Regions from separate parts of the Homo sapiens genome. Here region 1 is linked to region 2. The links are contacts of gene promoters, found by promoter capture Hi-C in blood cells and fetal thymus (Javierre and others, 2016). All regions are on one chromosome and are shown on one strand. Each heading gives the region's core, a stretch centred on a gene start or on the middle of the fragment in contact. The rest is flanking DNA. Distances are from core to core; before and after follow the strand shown.

Region 1 (4,484 bases), core at 1,438-3,937, 510 kb after region 2:
CCGTCTTTCCTCGGTTGAGATTTATTAGTCTCTGACCCAATCAATTACATTAAATGAATTGAGTAAGCGTTTTCTAATGGTATAAAGAAAAAACAGTCTTGATAAGTTTGTAAACTCTCACTTTTAAGCTCTCATAAATAATTTGGTCTGTTTTCTAATATTAGCTAAAAGTAATACAATAGAACCTTAGGAGTGACAAAAATGTTTTATAAAGTGGATAAAAATCATGTTTCTCAAGAGATCATCTGTAATCTGGTCACTGGTCACACAAATGTTTTTTGTTTGTTTGTTTGTTTGTTTTTGAGATGGAGTTTCGCTCTTGTTGCCCAGGCTGGAGTGCAATGGTGTGATCTCGGCTCACCGCAACCTCTGCCTCCCGGGTTCAAGCAATTCTCCTGCCTCAGCCTCCCGAGTAGCTGGGATTACAGGCATGTGCCACCACGCCCGGCTAATTTTGTATTCTTAGTAGAGATGGGGTTTCTCCATGTTGGTCAGGCTGGTCTCAAACTCACGACATCAGATGATCCGCCCGCCTCGGCCTCCCAAAGTGCTGGGATTACAGGCGTGAGCCACTGTGCCCGGCTGGTCTCTTTTATGTAAGCATATCCCACTTAGCAGGGAGTATGCCTGGAGTGACTTCTTACTCAGTTCAGGAAATAAGGATTATGATTATTGAATGTTAATTACTAAGAAAATATGGTTATTTAATCTTCTGACAGTCTTACATATTATTTGCTTACTTTATAAATTAGGAAATTGCAAGGGTAAATTACCTGCCCAAGGTCACAAAGCTAGTTAATGGTGGAGTTAAAAGTCAAGCTTTGTTTGATGCCAAAGCTCATCTTCTTTCCCCTCTAGCCTGCTTTCTGGACTGCATCACCAAACCTTACCCACTGTATTGTATTTGTTTTCTCTCTTAGTGGATGAGTGCTCGTCTGACTACACAATTGTGCTTCCTGTGATTGGGGCCATCGTGGTTGGTCTCTGCCTTATGGGTATGGGTGTCTATAAAATCCGCCTAAGGTGTCAATCATCTGGATACCAGAGAATCTAATTGTTGCCCGGGGGGAATGAAAATAATGGAATTTAGAGAACTCTTTCATCCCTTCCAGGATGGATGTTGGGAAATTCCCTCAGAGTGTGGGTCCTTCAAACAATGTAAACCACCATCTTCTATTCAAATGAAGTGAGTCATGTGTGATTTAAGTTCAGGCAGCACATCAATTTCTAAATACTTTTTGTTTATTTTATGAAAGATATAGTGAGCTGTTTATTTTCTAGTTTCCTTTAGAATATTTTAGCCACTCAAAGTCAACATTTGAGATATGTTGAATTAACATAATATATGTAAAGTAGAATAAGCCTTCAAATTATAAACCAAGGGTCAATTGTAACTAATACTACTGTGTGTGCATTGAAGATTTTATTTTACCCTTGATCTTAACAAAGCCTTTGCTTTGTTATCAAATGGACTTTCAGTGCTTTTACTATCTGTGTTTTATGGTTTCATGTAACATACATATTCCTGGTGTAGCACTTAACTCCTTTTCCACTTTAAATTTGTTTTTGTTTTTTGAGACGGAGTTTCACTCTTGTCACCCAGGCTGGAGTACAGTGGCACGATCTCGGCTTATGGCAACCTCCGCCTCCCGGGTTCAAGTGATTCTCCTGCTTCAGCTTCCCGAGTAGCTGGGATTACAGGCACACACTACCACGCCTGGCTAATTTTTGTATTTTTATTATAGACGGGGTTTCACCATGTTGGCCAGACTGGTCTTGAACTCTTGACCTCAGGTGATCCACCCACCTCAGCCTCCCAAAGTGCTGGGATTACAGGCATGAGCCATTGCGCCCGGCCTTAAATGTTTTTTTTAATCATCAAAAAGAACAACATATCTCAGGTTGTCTAAGTGTTTTTATGTAAAACCAACAAAAAGAACAAATCAGCTTATATTTTTTATCTTGATGACTCCTGCTCCAGAATCGCTAGACTAAGAATTAGGTGGCTACAGATGGTAGAACTAAACAATAAGCAAGAGACAATAATAATGGCCCTTAATTATTAACAAAGTGCCAGAGTCTAGGCTAAGCACTTTATCTATATCTCATTTCATTCTCACAACTTATAGGTGAATGAGTAAACTGAGACTTAAGGGAACTGAATCACTTAAATGTCACCTGGCTAACTGATGGCAGAGCCAGAGCTTGAATTCATGTTGGTCTGACATCAAGGTCTTTGGTCTTCTCCCTACACCAAGTTACCTACAAGAACAATGACACCACACTCTGCCTGAAGGCTCACACCTCATACCAGCATACGCTCACCTTACAGGGAAATGGGTTTATCCAGGATCATGAGACATTAGGGTAGATGAAAGGAGAGCTTTGCAGATAACAAAATAGCCTATCCTTAATAAATCCTCCACTCTCTGGAAGGAGACTGAGGGGCTTTGTAAAACATTAGTCAGTTGCTCATTTTTATGGGATTGCTTAGCTGGGCTGTAAAGATGAAGGCATCAAATAAACTCAAAGTATTTTTAAATTTTTTTGATAATAGAGAAACTTCGCTAACCAACTGTTCTTTCTTGAGTGTATAGCCCCATCTTGTGGTAACTTGCTGCTTCTGCACTTCATATCCATATTTCCTATTGTTCACTTTATTCTGTAGAGCAGCCTGCCAAGAATTTTATTTCTGCTGTTTTTTTTGCTGCTAAAGAAAGGAACTAAGTCAGGATGTTAACAGAAAAGTCCACATAACCCTAGAATTCTTAGTCAAGGAATAATTCAAGTCAGCCTAGAGACCATGTTGACTTTCCTCATGTGTTTCCTTATGACTCAGTAAGTTGGCAAGGTCCTGACTTTAGTCTTAATAAAACATTGAATTGTAGTAAAGGTTTTTGTAATAAAAACTTACTTTGGAGATTTGTGCATGTCATTTATTTTTTATGATTCATTTTTGTGCTGTATAAATTTTGTTTACAATCATCTTAGGTTTTTGCTCCGATCAATAAGTTAAATCATCTTTCTATAATTTGTTTCATTCTATTCTCCATTGCCACATTATCACTTGGTAGGAATTCCTGAGAAGATAAACCACATTAAAGTTACATATGAAATGTCTCAACTCTTAGCTTAGACTGACTGCATTACTAGTTTGCTTAAATGTCGCCACGTTTGTTCATTCATTCATTTGATCAGCATTGATAAGGATTTGCTAAATGCCAGATACTCTTGTAGGAGCTGAGATAAATAAGAGGTCCTATATTAGTTACCCATAGTGATCTGAGAGAAAGAGAGAGAGGGCTGGGAGCGGTGGCTGACACCTGTAATCCCAGCACTTTGGGAGGCCGAGGCAGTCAGGTCACGAGGTCAGGAGTTTGAGACCAACCTGGCCAATATGGTGAAACTCCGTCTCTACTAAAAGTACAAACAAATTAGCTGGGCATGGTGGTGTGCACCTGTAGTCCCAGCTACTCGGGAGGCTGAGGCAGAAGAATCGCTTGATCCCGGGAGACAGAGGTTGCAGTGAGCCGAGATCATGCCACTGCACTCCAGCCTGGGCGACAGAGCGAGACTCCATCTCAAAAAAAAAGAGAGAGAGAGAGACTGACCAAGATGAAAGCCGTCATATTTTTATAACCTAATCACAGAAGAAACATACTATCGCATGTCTGTTTATGGTTCACACAAACCATCTCTGGTACACTGTGGAAGGGGACTACACAAGGGCTCGAATATCAGATTTTAGTCCATTCTGTGCCATTATCACAGAATACCACAGATTTTTTGATAACTTACAAGCAATAGAAGTTGATTTGGTCATGGTTCTGGAGCCTGGGAAGTCCAAGATGGAAGGGCCAAATCTGATGTGCATCTTCTTGCTGCCTTGTAACATGGTAAAAGGCATCACATGGTGCGAGGACACAGAAGAGAGAGCAAGAGGGGGCCCCACACTTGTAATAATAGCATTAATCCATCCACGAGGGCAGAGCCATCATGACCCCACTGCCTCTTAAAGGTCCCGCTTCTCAACACTGTTGCATTGTAGATTAAGTTTCCAACATATGGTTTGGGGGACACCTTCCAACCACAGCGCCGGGAGAGGGAGGAACCCCTGGAGGCAGCGTGGATGCTGCCTACCTCAGGTGCCTACTGTCAAGGTGAACATTGTGGAATTCGTGGTTTACTTTTTGGAGGGAACTTCAGTAAATAAATTCCAGTATATATACTAAGATAAGTGGATTAATAGGAACATATACAAGGGATGATGAGAGCAAGGCCCTTTCCAGCCTGCTTCCAACCCTGCCCCAGGTGTAGCACCTCCTCAGGAGCACAGCCTCCCAATCCCTGGTGATGAAGGTCCATTGACCACAGGGTCTGGTGTTGACCCATTGGTCTACAGCACTGACGTCACGGCTTCACCTTCCTAAAAGAAAGTAGCCAGGATGGCTCCAGCCCCTACCCAATCTGCCCCACCTTTGTTC
Region 2 (4,320 bases), core at 77-2,576:
GGGCAGGCCACGGTAGCCGATCTCTGCGTGCCCAGAACTGCCTGCAGGATCAGGCAGCAGCAGCGGCGGCGGCGGCCACCGAGGCTACCAGCCGCCCGCAGCAGGGGCGGGAGCGCGCGCCTCCCGCACCCGCGCCACCCGGCTCCACTCGGGCCGCAGCTGCAAAAGCAGCGACAGCGCGCGCTCCCGCGCGTCCTCCAGATCACCTTCAAGGGGGCGGGAAGAATGGCCCAGGGCAGGCCCACCTAGTGACAATAAAAACTCGCCAATAAAAACTCGAACTCTCCCTCGGGTACCGCCCACAAGCTGCCGCAGGCGCCCAATCCCCGCCGCGTTAACAGTCTTCACCCGGGGTGTCCAGAACTTGAGGGCGGGTCCATTAGGAACTAAATTAAGAAACTGAGTCCTGGAGTGGTAAGAAGGTGGGGAGGTTAGGCGGGGACTGCGCCGGCGGAACGCCCGCTCCCCCGCCCGCCCCGGCTCCCCGGGGACGGCCGCAGCGGGCCGGGTGTCGCGATCGTGGTAAACAAAGGCTCGCAGGGGACGGGGGCGGGGGTAACGGTCAGGTGACAGTGCCGAGTGCATTTCGCAATCGCTTTAATGGGGCTTCACGGGCCCGCGGCCCTGGGGACCCCACCTTGACCCCGTCATTCCTCCCGGACAGAACCGACGGTCGTCCCACCAAACAAGAAGGCTGGATTTGAGGCGGTCGCACTCCCCCGGGCTTCCTGAAATAAAAAGCAGCGCCCCGTTCGCAGCCCATCGGCAACAAGCAGCACCCGTCTGCCCAGCCGCCTCCCCCGGCGGCGCCCGGCCCCGCGGCGACTAGCCTACCGCACCTGCGGCTACCCCCAGTCCCGGCAACCACCCCGCCCTAGCCAGGCCGCACCAGCCGCGCCGCGGTTCCGGGCCGTAGTGCCAGGAGGCGCGCGCGCCCTCCCTCAGGGCTGTAGCTACCAAGCGGGGGAGGAAGACCCCCCAGGTGAACCCTGGAGGCCCCTCGCCTCAGAAAGGGGCCCTGTAGCCCAGCTGCAGCCTCTCCGCAGACCGCCAGTCTGGCTCTGAGAGGCCGGCCGCCGCTGGCTGCCCTCCCGCAGACACCCCGGTGGTCAGGACCGCCGTCGCCCCTCCGCCCCCGAGGACTCAGACTCTGACCGGTTCCTCGCCTTTCGGCCGGTCCCGGAGCTGTCACCCCCGGTACCTCTCGGCGAACACTGGAAGCAGCCAGCAGTGGCTAACCCCGCGGTCCCTCAGCGGCGGGCGGCGCAGCGCACTCTCCAGCGCCGGCGTCTCCTCCAGCCACCAGTCTCTGCCGCAGCTCACAACAAAGGAAACATGTGACCGTCCGGGCCAAAACACTGAGCGTCAGCGAACCCTGGCCAATCCGGGTGGGCGTCCTCCGCCCCGGGGAACCCTGGGAGATGTAGTTCACGCTTCCCGGTGGCCTCCGGGGCCACCTGGGGCTCCCGCCGTGGGGTGGGTGTCGGGTGCCCAAGAGGACGAGACCCACCCAAAGGGCTGCTGACTCAAAAACACCTTGTTTTAAGCAGAGACAGTTAAAAAAATGCCTCTTGTGTAAGGAGCCGAGTGAGAAGCCAGAGTCGTTTCTTTCCTTCCCTCAAAGGCCCCTGCCACGTCCCAAGGAAAAAGCCCGCGATCAGCCCTTCGACTTTAAAGCTTGGGTCGAAGCTTAGAGAGCTTTTTATTTGACCCTTTGATAGACAATCGGAAATCAGGCCTGAGGGCCTGCAGGGTGGACGAGACTAAAACCCCAGTCCTTAGAAGGAGCAAGGAAAACCACCTCTTTTTTTTTGATAAAGCTGTTACTGTCCCTGGTATCAAATCCTAGGTTACCTTTTTATTTTAAACGCACATGCACGTCGACCAAAGCTGTCACAAATCCCTGTTTTCCAAGGTAGATGGAGTTCCTAAAGGACATTGTGTTGTCGTTTTGTGTCTGCAAGCTTTTTGTTTTGTTTCGTTTTGAGACAGAGTTTCGCTCTGCCACTCAGGGTGGAGTGCAGTGGCGCAATCTCGGCCCACTGCAACCTCTGCCTCCCGGGTTCAGGCGATTCTCCCGCCTTAGCCTCCCGAGTAGCTGAGACTACAGGTGCCCGCCACCACGCCCAGGTAATGTTTTGTATTTTTAGTAGAGGCTGTGTTAGCCAGGCTGGTCTCGAACTTCTGGCCTCAAGTGATCCGCCTGCCTTGGCCTCCCACAGTGCTAGGATTACAGGCATGAGCCACTGCGCCCCGCCTGCAGGTATTCTTTTAAAGGATGATTGCAACCATTTAACTAGTTTTTGGTTTCTGATACCAAATTTAAAAATCTCTATCTTCTACATGTCATGAATACCGTCATGCCTCTATTAAATTAGGCGTTGTGTTCTGATGACCAGAGGCGGAAATAATATGGAAGGCCTATATACAGGCCTTTTAAACATACTTTTTAGGCCTCTTTTCCATCTCTTATTCAATTATTTGAGCTATTTCTTCTGGTATTTATATATTTCCAAATAATGTATGACTATTTCCTATTAAGGAAGCTATCCTTCTCATAATCTGGTTAAATCATTAATGTTTACGCTAATGAGACCATGTATTTATTATTCATTGTTGAGACAAATCGTATACAATTTCCCATCTTGTATGGCTTTTGGTTTTCCTTGGAGTTTTAATAATTATCCTCTTTCTTTGCTTATTTTATTATGGATCTATCACAATGTCCTCTTAGTTTTTCTAAAACGATAAAATGCTTTCAATACAACTCCATATAATCAAACCCATCAGATAATCCATCGTGTGTGTATGTGTGTGTGTGTGTGTGTGTGTGTGTGTGTGTGTGTGTGTATCTGTACTTTTTTCTTAGAGTCATTGGTCCGCAGTTCCAATGACTGTTTGGGAAGCTTGCTTCTCTGTCTTGGGTCTTCCCTTCTCCAGCATCCTAGCATTTTCTTCTGTGATTTCGAGCATTGCCTCATATTTTGGTAGAGCACATTCCTCTTAAATAGCTTCCTAAGAAAAGGTCCATGAGAAGTAAATATTTTTGAACTTTTCATGTCTAAAAATATCATCACTCTATTTTACCTTTGAATGATGATGTTGCCTAATCATACAATCTAGATTATAAATTATATTTATTCGGGATTTCGAAGATACTGCTTTATTAACACCTAGATTCTGGTATTGCTGTCGAGAAGTACAATGCTGTTCTTACACTGATTTTTTATATTTGTTGATGTATGCTTAATAATTCCCGCTCCTCAGGAGGTAGCTGCTGAATAGGTTCACGTGGTCTTCTCTTAGCAGCTCCTTATGAGCACCCCAGGCTCACGGATTAGCCTTCTTCAGTTTTGTTATTCCTTGTGATTTAAGACAATTTCTGGACTTTGGAACTTTTTTTGTGTGTGTGTGACGTCTCACTCTGTCGCCCAGGCTGGAGTGCAGTGGTGCAATCTTGGCTCACTGAAGCTCCGCCTCCCGGGCTCACACCATTCTCCTGCCTCAGCCTCCCGAGCAGCTGGGACCACAGGCGCCCGCCACCACGCCCGGCTAATTTTTTGTATTTTTAGTAGAAACGGGGTTTCACCGTGTTAGCCAGGATGGTCTCGATCTCCTGACCTCATGATCCGCCCATCTCAGCCTCCCAAAGGGCTGGGATTACAGGCCTGAGCCACTGCGCTCGACCTGGAACTTTTTATTTACTTATTTATTTATTTTTAATTTATTTTTATTTTTGAGATGGAGTCTTGCTCTGTTGCCCAGGCTGGAGTGCAGTGGCACGATCTCGGCTCACTGCAACTTCCACCTCCCAGGTTCAAGCAATTCTCGTGTCTCAGCCTCCTGAGTACCTGGGACTACAGGTGCCTGCCACCACGCCCAGCTAGTTTTTGTATTTTTAATAGAGACGGGGTTTCACCATATTGGTCAGGCTGGTCTTGAACTCCTGACCTCAGGTGATCCGCCCGCCTTGGCCTCCCAAAGTGCTGAGATTACAGGTGTGAGCCACTGCGCCCGGCCTGGACTTTGGAACTTGATCCTTCCAGTTTTGAATAGTCACAGCTGACTTGGATGTTGCTGATGTTGTCACACTTTATCTTGTTCTCCACCTGTTTACTTTTATGCATATATTTCTTCATTGTGTTATAGGCCAGAAGTTTATAGTCCTCCTGCATAGGAATTTGAGGGTCGTAGGAAGATCTTGACTTAACACCTCAGGATTCTTTGTGGGAAAATCTGGTGATGTAAGCGACAGAATAAGAATGTGCTTTGGCTCAAGCCAGGTTGAGGTGTGCCTTTGTGACTTTTACTTTAAAGGGA

What was found. Contacts are between HindIII fragments. The CHiCAGO score rates a contact against its expected background, and 5 or more counts as called.
Region 1: a fragment that was not itself captured here is called in contact with the fragment with the promoter of KLHL24 in region 2 in 1 of 17 cell types (fetal thymus); the score reaches 5.6 in fetal thymus.

What each region holds. Positions count from the first base shown.
Region 1 is chr3:183,120,651-183,125,134 of GRCh38, reverse strand. It overlaps LAMP3 (lysosomal associated membrane protein 3), which reads left to right. Exons shown (of 6, transcript NM_014398.4): 6 at 921-2,920. The coding sequence ends at 1,054. Among named protein-coding and RNA genes, the nearest start is that of MCCC1, 23 kb to the right of the region's middle. The HindIII fragment of the contact is 3,732 bases long and covers 822-4,484 here.
Region 2 is chr3:183,632,629-183,636,948 of GRCh38, reverse strand. KLHL24 (kelch like family member 24) reads right to left here and starts at 1,326. Exons shown (of 8, transcript NM_017644.3): 1 at 1,156-1,326. LOC107986162 (a long non-coding RNA gene) reads left to right here and starts at 340. Exons shown (of 2, transcript XR_001741042.2): 1 at 340-414; 2 at 665-2,786. LOC105374248 (a long non-coding RNA gene) reads right to left here. Exons shown (of 3, transcript XR_924773.3): 3 at 3,964-4,236. RefSeq lists silencers at 1-250, 301-620, 811-880, 891-1,000 and an enhancer at 1,421-1,480. The HindIII fragment of the contact is 5,143 bases long and covers 1-1,679 here.